2 separate regions of the Homo sapiens genome follow, and region 1 is linked to region 2. The links are contacts of gene promoters, found by promoter capture Hi-C in human tissues and cell types (Jung and others, 2019). All regions are on one chromosome and are shown on one strand. Each heading gives the region's core, a stretch centred on a gene start or on the middle of the fragment in contact. The rest is flanking DNA. Distances are from core to core; before and after follow the strand shown.

Region 1 (7,192 bases), core at 3,810-6,309, 62 kb before region 2:
ATAAAATGGAAAGCCTGTGTCTTATTGATTAGAATGGTGATGCCCCAAACACACTGGTCTGTTAAGACATTTGAAACAGTTTACGGCAAATTGGAAAATGTTTTATAAAGTTTTATATAAAGATGAATGTATTTAATTTAAAAGATTATCCTTTGTAGCCACCATGATTAAGGGCAGGGACTCTGGAGCCTGCTAGCCTGGGCTCAAATCCCAGCTCAGCCACCAGATAGCCACCTATTGCTCAGTGACCCTGAGTGAAGCATTGAACCTCTGTGCCTCAGTTTCCTCCTTTGTAAAAGGGAATAATAATAGTACCCATGGCCTTAAAGTTGTTTTGAGAATAAATAAGTCGATGTGGACAGCACTTAGAACAGTGCCTGGCACGTGGTACATACCATAAAAGTGTTTCATATTATCCCTATGTTTTAAATGTAAAAAGCCTTATCTTGGCCAGGTACAGTGGCTCACACCTGTAATCACAGCACTTTGGGAGATCGAAGAAGGCAGATTGCTTGAGCCCAGGAGTTCAAGACCAGCCTGGGCAATATACCAAGACCTTATCTCTACAAAAAAAACAAAAAACGAAATTAGCTGGGCATGGTGGCACATACCTGTAGTCCCAGCTACTTGGGAGGCTGAGGTGGGAGGATTGCTTGAGCCTGGGAGGTCGAGGCTGCAGTGAGCTGTGATCGTGCCACTGCACTCCAGCCTGGGGCACAGAGTGGGACCCCGTCTCAAAAAAAAAAAAAAAAAAATTTAAGAGAGAAAGAGAGAAAGAAAAAGAAAAGGCCTATATTTTAGAAAGTGATAGAGCTGGGAGGTTTTCTGTTTGGTTTGGTTTTTGTTGGTTGGTTGGTTTTCTCAATGTCTTTACTTGATCATTAAAAAAAGCAGCAGCAGCAGCTGGTAACCCTATTTGCCCTATACTTCTTTTTGTACTCATCTTTGATACCCAGAAGTCTAAGAAATACTGATTTGTAAAGAACTGTTTTACCCAAAATTGTAGCACTTTTCTTTGCAACTTATTTTCTCCCAAACACTCCAGCTTCCTGAGATTCCTCTTGAGTGCTTAGAAGAGTACCTGGCTTATCAGAAGGGCTAGATAAGAGTTAGTCCTTTTATTCTTGTATATCGATTTTTTTTGCATATCTTATTAGGATGGATCTAGAAGTAGAATTGCTGGGTCAAGAGCATTCCTATTAAAATGGAGACTCCTGTGACTCGGCTGTCTTCCTGAAACATTATACGTGGAAGTGTCCACTTCCTCACACCCCGCCATTTTCTATGACATCCAAGCAGGAAAACTGGGTGGACAATGAGGTGAGGAGGTGCAGAAATTCCTGTCGCCTCCTCCCCTCCTGAGCTCAGAATAGTTTGGGTCTGAAAGACGGCTGCTCCCCACAGGGAGGTAGAGGAGGTGAGATGCAGAGGCTCGCAGCCCCCTAACTCTCACGGGCACCCTGGGAGATCTTGTTCAAGGCACAAGATTTCACACGCTGACGGCCACAACTAGCCTGCCTAAAGCAGCCAGTTTTGCTTGAAAGATGAGCTCCACTTATCCAGAGTGGGTGCCCCACTCTGGGCTGGGGCCAAGTCTAGAGCTCTTCGTCTTACTTGGCCACAGAAAGAAAAAGGGCGGAACATGCTGAGGATGCCATTGTGCCTCTTCCTCCTTTACATTTAATGGACCAGTAGAGAAGAAGGAATGCGTTTCACCTTTCTGTAAGTAACACGCTCAGTTCATTCCTTCCCAGCTCTCCATCCACGAGATGGATGACCCCCACGGCAAGCGCTTCCTCATGGTGATGAAGGGGGCCCCTGAGCGCATCCTAGAGAAATGCAGCACCATCATGATCAACGGCGAGGAGCACCCACTGGACAAGAGCACTGCCAAGACCTTCCACACAGCCTACATGGAGCTGGGCGGGTTGGGCGAGCGTGTGCTGGGTGAGTGCGGCGGCAGGGCCCTGCCCATCACCTGGTGGGCACAGAGATGAGGCAGGCGCCTTGAGGACCTGTGACCTAGCCCAGTGGCCATGGCATCCACGTGAAGCATGTAAAGGAGAACATGATAAGCAGGATGGGAACAAGGAGAGGATGCTGTGTGACAGCACCAAGCAGGGTGGGATGGCCTCCAGAGAGGCAAGCTCAGGGAAGACTTTATGGAAGGAGTTAAATTTCAAACTGGGCCTTAAGTGACTGCATTTGAGGGGAGATAGGGGAAAGTATCCAGGGCCCAGGGAACAGCACAGGCCAATCACAGAGGCAGAACGGCGTGGGGCACATTGGGTGCTGCCAGCAGGTGAGATGGCACTGTCACAGAAACAGGGTTCAAGGGCTGGACTGGAGGTCATGAGATGGAGGTCTTGAACATCTGGGTGAGGAGCCAGGTTTCATCCTGCAGTCAGTAGAGAGCACTGAGGGCTGTGCCACTAGAGTGAGCTGGGCAGTCGCAGGGCTGGGGAAGACTTTATGGAAGGAGTTAAATTTCTTTAACTTCTTTAAATGTCTTTGGCGGCAGCAGGGAGAGGAGAGATGCACATCTCCATAGGAAGCAGCTGCCCTTGCTCAGGCAAAAGGGATGGGAATTTTTTCAGGGTGATGGGAATGGGAAGGAGAGATCAGGGCAAGAGACTTCATAGAGGTAGAGTTTGGTAAGATTTAGAACCTATCAGAGAAGGATAATGTTTAAAAATGATTAAGCTTCCCATTTAACGACTAGGAAGAGAGTGATGCCAGTGATGCAGACAAAGTGTCAGGAAGGAAGGAACCTTAGAAATGCAACAGGAGGAGGACCCAATGGGGGTGCCTGCGGTGTTGTCAAAGGGGACAGTGTGTCCTGTTGTCAGCACCAGGGCTGGCGGAATGGTGCCCCATCAGGACCACAGAATGACAAATTCAAGGAAACAGAAGTGTATGGTTGACGATCCGGCTCATTAAACACCATGGAAGTCCTCACCAATACAGATGCAGTCTGTGGAATGTGTGTTTCTAAAGGCTATTGGAGTTGGCAAATCAGATAAAGCATATAAATGAGATGGTGATGCTTTAGGCATCCAATAACCCACAGTACCGGGTATTCTACACGGGATCGATGCCCACTTGCGTTTGATTTCTCAAAGCCTGCTCCATTGACATTTGCAAAGCAGTGGGCCAGGCTGAAAATAAATTGGATGTGAAAGCTGATCACACAATCTTGGAGGTCCCACCAGACACAAGAGTCCCTTCCACCTCAGCCTATGAGAGGCTGATGCCTTCTGAGAAAAGGATGGCTCGGCCCCATTCCTGCTGGCCTTTCTCTTGGGCTTATCTTGATCTAGCACTGAACTTTGTGCCCCTCCGCTGAACCCCCTTGTTCCTTCACATGCTGTTTTCTCTGCTGAAAATGGCCTTCCCACCTCCACCCTCCCTTTTTTCCCTAGAAATCATCTTTGCCCCTCTCAAGCTTCACCTCACATGTGACCTCCTTGGGGAAGTCTCTCCTAATCCTCCAGGCAGCTGAAATGTGTCTCTGCCCTGAGATGTACCCTATGCTTGATCCCTTTAACTCTGTGCCCCGCTAAACTTCAGAAGTCGAGACTGTGTATTGCCCTAGAACTTGGCAATATAGCAAGATATATTTCTAGAACACAGAGCCTAATGAGCTCACAGTGAATTATATTTGGATGAAATATGTCTTTCCTAAAAAAATGCATTATGGAGTTGAAGAAATTAAACAATTCTGGCTTATTCTAATGTATTGGTAAAACAGCAGAGGACCAAGGTGTATGAGCATGTTCTCCTCTTATTTTTTTTCGTTTCCTATTCTAGTTTCACTGACTCACTAATTCATCTGTATTACAGGTTTCTGTCATCTCTACCTGCCAGCAGACGAGTTTCCAGAAACCTACTCATTTGACATAGACGCTATGAACTTTCCGACCTCCAACCTCTGTTTTGTGGGACTCTTGTCAATGATCGATCCCCCTCGGTCCACCGTGCCAGATGCAGTCACCAAATGCCGGAGTGCAGGGATCAAGGTGGGAGTTATTTTCCTGACTCAAGAAGTTCTTTCTTTATGTCGTGTTCCTTTCTAATAATGGTTTTCATAGCAGATGGTCAGTATTTAGGTGTCTTCAAGTAAATATCATAATTCCTATTTTATTTCTAGTTTCACTGTGCTAAGGTTACTGAAACTGTCCCACAAAAAGAAAATGATTGTGTCTATGTGGAATGAACCACATAAACAGTAAATGCAATGAGAAGAATCTCCTAGTGCCTTGAAGTGACCATATCTCGCCCTAGTCCATGGTAGATACTAAAAGGCTTTATTGGCTGGGCGCAGTGGCTCATGCCTGAAATCCCAGCACTTTGGGAAGCTGAGGCAGGCGGATCATCTGAGGTCAGGAGTTCCAGACCAGCCATGGCCAACATGGTGAAACCCCGTTTCTACTAAAAATACAAAAAAATTAGCCAGATGTGGTGGCACACACCTGTAATCCCAGCTACTCGGGAGGCTGAGGCAGGAGAATCTCTTGAATCCAGGAGGCAGAGGTTGCAGTGAGCCGAGATCACACCATTGCACTCCAGCTTGGGCAACAAGAGTGAAACTCTGTCTCAAAAAAAAAAAAAAAAAAAGAAAGAAAGAAAAGAAAAGAAAAAAAGAAAGAAAAAAGGCTTTATTACTCAGTCTTGAGGCTCAGCCCCCATAATCCATGTTCATCATTACTAGGTTAATATTAAGACTGTTGAAGTAACATGGGGCTACCCCCAAGTAGACACTCACCAGCCCTTTCACAAATAAAGTGGCATCAAAGGGGAAGGGCTTCCTTTCATGTCAGAGGAGGAAGCGTATGAAGCTTAGGAGCAAGGGTAGACCCAATGGGATTAGTGTTTCCTCCAAAGACAGTTGTCTCGTAGATCCAGAGCTGCCACTGTAATCACCAACCACGTTCTCCCAGGGCACTACAGAGTAGGTATTACTGAACCATCCCCACTTTGGCCAACCGAGTTCTTCATTACCCGTGGGCCTTCTCGTTGTCTTTGCTCTAGGTTATTATGGTTACTGGTGATCATCCCATCACAGCCAAAGCTATTGCCAAGAGTGTGGGGATCATTTCAGCCAACAGTGAAACAGTGGAAGACATTGCACATCGCCTCAACATTGCTGTGGAGCAAGTTAACAAACGGTAAGCACAGGAGCAGCATAGTAAAAATTCCAGTTTATACCCATGGGGCCCCACTGGCTCTAAAGAGCTGCACTACTTGGAACAAATCAGCTTTTTGCTCTCAGAGTTATGCTAGGCTTGTTTGAGCTATTATTTGCATATCCATGTATTCACTCTAATTTCACTGAGCAGCTAATATGTGCCAGGCACAGTATTGATACCATGAAATGACCCTTTATGTGTTCCTTGTTTGAAATTTCAAAATCCAGTGTGCCCTGGGCACAAAACCTATGTGCCCAATTTAGAATAAGAAAAACTGAAACAAAGGGTTTATGTGAAATTACTTGCCATAGATGCAGTTGCATAATTTGGAATCGTAAGAACCCTGTGGGTTGTTTCATGCACCCTCCTTGGTAAGCATCTTGGGTATTTATCCACCCGGTTTCATAACGTGTAGCTATGTAAACACACCCTTCTTTTTTATTTGGTAATAGATAGAATGGAAGCTTCCTAAGGAAAGTTTTTTTCCTTGTTTCTCCTAATTCTTTTAATCATGTTTATCCTTATTCTTTTAATCATGTTCATCCAACTGTACATTCACTCATGTATTTGTTCTTTCAACAAGTATTTACTGCGTGCCAACTATATACCAGGCAAGACCTGGAACTACAGTAGCAAACTGAACAATACTATCCACACCGTTGGGGAATCTTTCCATCGAGCCAAGGAGACACAAACAAAGCTAACAATGATGTGGCCAGTGTAATGAGGGAGCCACACAAGGCTAGGGAGCTGGGCATGCAGGAGAGTGGCCTGGACTGTGCCTGGTCTCCATGAGTCAAAGACTCCGAATTCTCAGGTTGAGAAGTAATGTTCATTAGCTGGGTTATGTTTTCACGCATGCGGGAGATGAGGGAAAGACCAATGCACCTCTTCAGTTTCCCCAAGCACTTAGGTCTTTTAGGGACACACAGCTGTCAGGTCATAACAAATTACCACGTTAGACAACCAACCAGGGTTCCCGCCTCTGGGCACAGCAGCAGTACCTGAAGTCTAAGAGTCTTGCAGTGCCCTTTAGTATACATAACATCCCTCTATGAAAACAACTTTGGGGCTTGTTTATTTGTTTGGTTTTGTAAGATAATCGGATTATACTTTTTTTCACTTTAGAATTTTAAACAAATTTTGTTTGTTTGTTTGTTTGTTTATTTAGACAGAGTCTCTCTCTGTCACCCACGCTGTAATGCAGTGGTGTGATCTCAGCTCACTGCAATCTCCACCTCCTGGGTTCAAGCGATTCTCCTGCCTCAGCCTCCTGAATAGCTGGGATTACAGGCGCCCGCCACCATGCCTGGCTAATTTTGTATTTTTAGTAGAGACGGGGCTTTGCCATGTTGGCCAGGCTGGTCTCAAACTCCTGACCTCAAGTGATCCACCCACCTTAGCCTCCCAAAGTGCTGGGCTTACAGGCGTGAGCCACCACACCTGGACTAAAAGAAATTTTTTTAAGAGTAGTCAAGTGCAGTAGTGAGAAGAGGGGAAAGAGTAGAAGTTTGATCTGTAACTGACTGTGAACAATCAGTTGAGCTAATTCACTACTACCTTCAGACCAGCCGAGTCTTCTTTTTTTAGATACAAGGTGTCCTGTCAGATCACCCAGGCTGGAGTGCAATGGTGTGATCATAGCTCACTGCAGCCTCGACCTCCTGGGTTCAAGGGATCCTCCCCTCTCAGCCTCCCAAGTAGCTGGGACTACAGGCTTGTGTCACTGCACCCAGCTTCATTTTAGCAGATTTTTTTTTTTTTGAGATGGAGTCTTTCTCTGTTGCCTAGGCTGGAGTGTGGAGTGCAGTGGTGAAATCTCATTGCAGCCTCCACCTCCTGGGTTCAAGGGATCCTCCCCTCTCAGCCTCCCAAGTAGCTGGGACTTTAATTTAAAATTTTAGCAGATTTTTTTTTTTTTGAGATGGAGTCTTTCTCTGTTGCCTAGGCTGGAGTGTGGAGTGCAGTGGTGAAATCTCATTGCAGCCTCCACCTCCTGGGTT
Region 2 (6,804 bases), core at 2,662-5,161:
AAATGATTATGATAAAAAGGGCCTAGTCACATTATCCAACGGGGAAAATAAACTTGAAAGAATGTGAATATAAATACAAGTAATACAAGTTTTCCAGAAAGAAATGTTAACAGAGAATGAATACCTTTTAAAAGTCATTCCAATGCTGGGAAAACTAGATATCCACATGCAGAAGAATGAAATTAGATCATTATCTCACATTATATGCAAAAATCAACTCAAAATAGATTAGAGATTTAAAAGACCTGAAACTGTAAAACTGCTAGAAGAAAATAGTGGGAAAGCTCTACGTCACTGGTCTGGAGAATGATTTTTTTGGATATGACAACAAAAGCACAGGCAACAAAAGCAAAAATAGACAAACAGGATTACATCGAACTATTAACAGAAAACTCTGCATAGCAAAGGAAACAGTCAGCAAAGTAAAGAGCCTATGGAATGGGAGAAAATATTTGCAAACTATACATCTGGTAAGGGGTTAATATCCAAAATACATAAGGAACATAAACAACTCAGTAGGAAGAAAACAACTCAAACAGAAAGTGAGCAAAGGACCTAAATAGACATTTCTCAAAAGATGACATACAAATGGCTAATAGGTATATGAAAGCATGCTCAATGTCACTAATCATCAGGGAAATGCAAATTAAAACCACAATGAGAAATTACAGACGGTATTAGAATGGAGATTATTTAAAAAAAAAGACAAAAGATAACAACTGTTGGCAAGGATATGGAGAAAAGGGAACCCTTATACAGTTAGTGGGAATGTAAATTAGTACAGCCATTATGGGAAACAGTATAAATTATTTGTTGTGTATATTTTCGAGAAGGTAACTGAATGGGTTAACTTAGTTAAATGTTGAAATACGTCTATTCAATAGATTAATTTGGTTTTAGAATATTAAAATTCTGGCTTGGTGTTATTCTATTAATCCCACTCTTATGGTGGGAATAAATATGTTATATGTTTCTATTCAATAATTTGGTTTTAGAATATTAATATTTTGGCTTGGTGTTATTCTATTAATCCCACTCTTATGTTGGGAATAAATATGTTATATGCTTAACAACAACAAAGAAACCTAACTTTGACCATGGATTTGATTTCAGGTGCACAGGGCTAAGGGCAGCCTGCAGGTTAGCTCTGTGACTGCATAGTTCTACATTCTTTCTCTGATCTGCTGCTGCTATTTGATCTCTGAATTTCTCTTTAGTTTTGGTGAAACTTTCTAAAAGACATTCACTGTGGGTCAGATGCAATTTATAAAAATTGTGTATTCAAGAAGGGAGCCCTGTTTATCTCATTTCTCAGCTGTTTAGGAGATGATTTTAGAGCACTAGAAAGGCACTGGTAGAGAGGCAGGCAGAGGGCAAACCTCCAAGGCCATTAAGGTTTTGTTGTAATTCATAGGAAGCCATTAAAGGGTTCCAAACAAAGGATTTAAACAACCTAAATTGAATGTTAAGAAGACATTTCTGGCTGCTCTATTTGAGGGTTCTTGGTAAGTGCTAAGAAATGAACAAATGTGGTATAATCATCTATCAGTGTATTTCTCACTGGCCCTGATTTATCCAAGATTAATTCAATTTCTGGGATTACCAAAGGCATCTCTGATGAAACTCAAGACCCACATTAAATATCCACATTATGGCCCACGATGAACACCTATGCAATGAGATTGTCATTATTCAAATTACAGTACAGCTATCCTAGAGGAAAAAGAGGCTTGCTACATGCTAGAATAGCATTAAGTGTGGAGAGAAATGTGAAGGTTTAAAGGAGAAAGTGCTTCTAAAGCTGATCCAGGAAGGATAAGGAGAATATGGGCCGGACGCGGTGGCTCACGCCTGTAATCCTAGCACTTTGGGAGGCCTAAGGCGGGCAGACTGCCTGAGCTCAGGAGTTTGAGAGCAGCCTGTGCAACACAGTGAAACCCAGTCAATACTAAAATACAAAAAATCAGCTGGGCGTGGTGGCATGCGCCTGTAGTCCCAGTTACTGGGGAGGCTGAGACAGGAGAATTGCTTGAACCCGGAGACCAAGGTTGCAGTGAGCTGAGATCTCGCCATTGCACTCCAGCCTGGGCGACAGAGCAAGACTCCATTTCTAAAAAAAAAAAAAAAAAAAAAAAAGAGAATATGAATTGATGAAGAGTGAACAGTAGGTATTCCAGATGAGGGGAATAGGGAATAATACTCACAAAACTGTAGAAGAGTCAACATGTTACATGAGAATATTGGCTTGATTAGTACTCAGTTCCATCATGGATTAGTAGTGGAAACTATTGGATGAGTAGTAGAATGAGGGTAATTTAGGGAAGCAGTACTTTTCTCTCGAAGACAACAAATTACAAAGATTTTTGAGCCGAAGTGAGCCTTTCAAGAGAATACTTACTTCACAGTTTCTAGTTACCCACACACAGTGTAGAGAGAAAAGAAAATGAGGAATATGGGCAGGCTTTATTCTTAGCAGCAAAAGGCAACCGTGCCACCTCCAGGTGTTTTGTTTGAAATACACCTGCCACCTTTCTACTAGATTACTTCATTCCTTGCTCACAAAACGTCTCATGCACTCTACTGCTTAAAGAGTAAAGTCCAAACTCCTCAGCCTTACACTCGAGATTCTCCGAAATTCTTCCCTGACACACCTCTCCAAAGAAGCTTACTTTAAGGAAACTCATACTCTGGCTAAATGGTCTTTAAATTCTCAAGAAGTCACTGTGTCTTCCATCTACCTTCCCTCACATCTACCTTCCCTCGCTGATGTGTTCTTTATTCTTGGAATCCCTTAGTTCTTGTTTACTCCTGTAAGTACTACCTAGGTTGTAAGGTCTAGTGCAAACCCTATATCCTCTACGAAGAGTTTTCATACCACCGTAGACCATATTGACTTCATTTCTTCATTGCTTTTTGTGAACTATGCTTGGACAAGTTGCTTCAACTCTTTTTTTTTTTTTTTTGAGACGCAGTCTCGCTCTGTCGCCCAGACTGGAGTGCAGTGGTATGATCTCGGCTCACTGCAAGCTCCGCCTCCCAGGTTCACGCCATTCTCCTGCCTCAGCCTCCCAAGTAGCTGGAACTACAGGCGCCCACCGCCACGTCCGGCTAATTTTTTTTTTTTTTTTTTTTTGTATTTTTAGTAGAGACAGGGTTTCACCATGTTAGCCAGGATGGTCTCGATCTCCTGACCTCGTGATCTGCCCGCCCTGGCCTCCCAAAGTGCTGGCATTACAGGCGTGAGCCACCGCGCCGGGCCCAGAAGGCTAATTCTTACTGTCTCTAACACAGGTCCGGTACATAACACTTATTTTGGCGGAAGTTACTGGGTTTTTTTAAGGAGTTATGTATCTCTCAAGCAGAAACCTGCTAGTTCATAAATTCTTAGCATCCCCAACCACTCTTGGCACGCTGCCTTGTATATTATTAGGCTCAACAGCAGTTAGTAATGATGAACACTCCTTAATTCGAAAGCGTTCACTGAATCTACCCCAACGATAGCTTCTCATTAGCTTCTCCACTCCAGCTGCTATTGGCCAAGCCCTGGATGCCCGAAGCACACAGGTTTAGGGCTTCTGGCCCTGACACGTAATAGGGAAAGGGGATTGTTTCAATCCAAATGATTATCTATAAAGTCACTCACAATGTAAGTAATAATATGCGAAATTTTAATTTGTGATGACTAAAAGCACTAAAGTGGTGACTCTTTGGGTAGAACGTAAAAACGAACGGTCCTCAACGGCCACAAGGCGCCCCTTCTAGGAGTGGTACCTCCCAGGATAACGGAAAACAGCCCCAGCCCCATCAGGAGCGAGCTTGGGGGCGGGCTTTAATCTCCCGGCCCACTGTTTGGCTATCTGCAGGGGCTGGCCTCCAATGATTGGTCGCTGCCGCGAGGGCCGCCGGGACTCGCACTCGGCGGTTGTTCCAGAAGAAAGAGACAGCGATGGCGGCAGAGGCTTCGAAGACTGGGCCTTCTAGGTCTTCCTACCAGCGAATGGGGAGGAAGAGTCAGCCCTGGGGTGCCGCTGAAATCCAGTGCACCAGGTGTGGAAGGAGGGTATCCAGATCATCCGGTGAGGAGCCCAAGGGCCCACCTAGCGGGGAGGCAGCCTGGAGGGAGCGCTGGGGGCCAGGTGAGCTGGTGGGCGCGTGAGGCTTGGTCAGCTGCATCCAATCCTGGTGTCACCAGAAACTGCGTCACAGGCCTCCCGCGAGCTGCACCCGACCTCTAAGAGGGCAGTGCTTGGGTTGGTTAAGGGCAGCACCTGCGCCTGTCACGGCTTTCTCCAATTACCCATCCAGGCCTCACCGACCCTCCAGCCGGGAGGATGGGGGCCCGGGTGGCTTTAATCTACTCCTCACAAGGCAGGTTAGCGGGTGCATGCAAAAGTAGACATAAAATGTAGCCCATTGTTTTGTCATCAAGAAGGAACGAAACTTGATTTTCTCCTGTAGTTTTTGTTGTAGGAGTAACAAGTAGACCATTGTGAAATGGTTTTGGATTTTGTTGTTGTTGTTAGCATTTTGTTGTTTCTGTGGGGGTTTTTTTGTTTGTTTTTTACATTATGGCTCACACTGGCCTAAAACACTGTTTGGAAAATGATAGTTTCTTTTGTGCACCTTGTGGGGTGTGTGTGTGTGTGTGTGTGTGTGTGTGTGTGTGTTGGTCTTTATACGTGAGGGGAAAAATACACTGCACTATTATTGGTCTGTTCACCTACAATCTACTCAAGTGATCACAGGTTCAAGTTATTTATTATTATTTTTTTCTTTGAGTTGGAGTCTCGCTCTGTAGCCCAGGCTGGAGTGCAGTGGCGCGATCTCGGCTCACTGCAAGCTCCGCCTCCCAGGTTCACGCCATTCTCCTGTCTCAGCCTCTGGAGTAGCTGGGACTACAGGCGCCCGCCACCACGCCCGGCTAATTTTTTGTATATTTAGTAGAGACAGGGTTTCACCGTGTTAGCCAGGATGGTCTCGATCTCCTGACCTCGTGATCCGCCCGTCTTGGCCTCCCAAAGTGCTGGGATTACAGGCGTGAGCCACCGCGCCCGGCCGGTTCAAGTTATTTTAATGTAACTTAAAATACCTTAGTGTGCTCTTAATACAGCTGAGTTGTTGAATCTCAATTCCTGGAGCTACTGAAAATTCGTATTACCTGGCGTAACTGTTTAATGTTTATACTTTCAAAGTTAAGGTCATTCGATCAGTTTTCTCAGTCTTGGCAAGATGGACTCTGTGAGATGTGAGCCTCTGCAGAAAAAGTTGTGATTTCAGTGGAGAACCAAGTTTCTCCTACTTGGGGTTTAGATCACTGCTACCGTTACGTAGAAAATTTCCATTTTTGAATGAAATTAAAATTACGGAATAAAGTTCTAGAACACAACCTTTTAAAATGAGTACTTCTTCCATACATTAGTATTATAATGCTTAGAAAAACTAAACTGGAGAAGTAGTGGTTATGTATATAGAATCCTGAAAGTGCTTTTTAAGCTGTAATTCACCACAAGTTATTTTGAGTTATTCAGTATCAGAAATTTTATAATAGTTAAGTGTTTTTATTTCTTTGGCAATATTATCCCTGGAAGTTAAATAGGGTTTTAAAATTTAGCATGGTTGTAAGCAAGTTTCAGGTATTTCAGTTGGATAGGAAACTTGTAAAGTTTTTAAAAAATACAATTAATGCAAGGCCGGGCACAGTGGCTCACGCCTATAGTCCCAGCACTTTGGGAGGCCGAGGTGGGCGGATCACTTGAGGTCGGGAGATCAAGACCAGCCTAGGCAACATGGTGAAATCCCATCTCTACTAAAAATACAAAAAAATTAGCTAGGCGTGCTGACGCACACCTGTAATCTCAGCTACTCCGGAGGCCGAGGCAGGAGAATAGCATGAACTCAGGAGGCAGAGTTGGCAGTGAACCGAGATCGTGGTCCGTCTCAGAATGAGTGAATGAATGGATGAATAAATAAATAAATAAAATTAATGCGATTATAATTCAGCAAGAACTCTATAATTATTTTGCTAGTAAAAGATGACTGATTTTTATCTAGTTTTTTTCCCTTTTCAGTTTTCTTGCAAAACTTTAAAAATGACAACCTTTTGAAATTATATAGCTAAAACAAATGTTATTTATTATAAACTTCAAATTCTTAGAGCATTTAATCATGATGTTAGGTTTTCAATCAAGTTACGATATTTCCTTTCATAAATGCTAAGTTTGTGAAAATGTGAGTTGTAGATATGTGATAATAGTAGCATCTGGCTTCTGGCCTTGCCAGTGTCTTAAATAATTCTAACAGCACGGTCTTGCCAGTGTCTCATTTTGGCCCTTCCTGACCTCTTCACAGGATGGGAAATATAAAGTAGTAGAGGGCAGTATGATCAATCAGAAAGAATGTTAGACTTGGAAACAGAGCTAGATAGGAGTCTGGATTATACCATTTAGTTAACCAAATCTCCAAAATGCTATTTCATCTCCAGCCCACTTAACTGTGATATTTACAAATAACAAATAAAATGTGTCAGAGCACTTTGTGTAAGATATGGCAGATTCAAAGTATTCTAGGTACAAAATAGCCATCTGAATTAATGCAAATGCTATTACATAGCTCTTCTTGGTTTTTCTTCTTGATTTTTCTCCCTCCTGACCTGAATAGTTGGTTACTCCTGATTTATATTCAATAAGTCAACCATTTCAAACTGTAGTAGGTATCTTTTCCTGTACAGTAGGATCCTCTTTGAATTTCCCTTGTATCAGTATTGCCCATTCAACATTAACACACTGTGGGCAGTTTAATCACAAT

The links. Contacts are between HindIII fragments. The study calls those that stand out against the background at their distance.
Region 1: a fragment that was not itself captured here is called in contact with the fragment with the promoter of RNF17 in region 2 in 1 of the 25 tissues and cell types used here (adrenal gland).

What each region holds. Positions count from the first base shown.
Region 1 is chr13:24,696,904-24,704,095 of GRCh38, forward strand. ATP12A (ATPase H+/K+ transporting non-gastric alpha2 subunit) reads left to right here. Exons shown (of 23, transcript NM_001676.7): 12 at 1,755-1,947; 13 at 3,844-4,019; 14 at 5,032-5,168. It also overlaps the pseudogene RNY1P7. Among named protein-coding and RNA genes, the nearest start is that of ATP12A, 20 kb to the left of the region's middle. The HindIII fragment of the contact is 3,970 bases long and covers 3,075-7,044 here.
Region 2 is chr13:24,760,258-24,767,061 of GRCh38, forward strand. RNF17 (ring finger protein 17) reads left to right here and starts at 3,912. Exons shown (of 36, transcript NM_031277.3): 1 at 3,912-4,076. The coding sequence starts at 3,947. The HindIII fragment of the contact is 17,753 bases long and covers 1-6,804 here.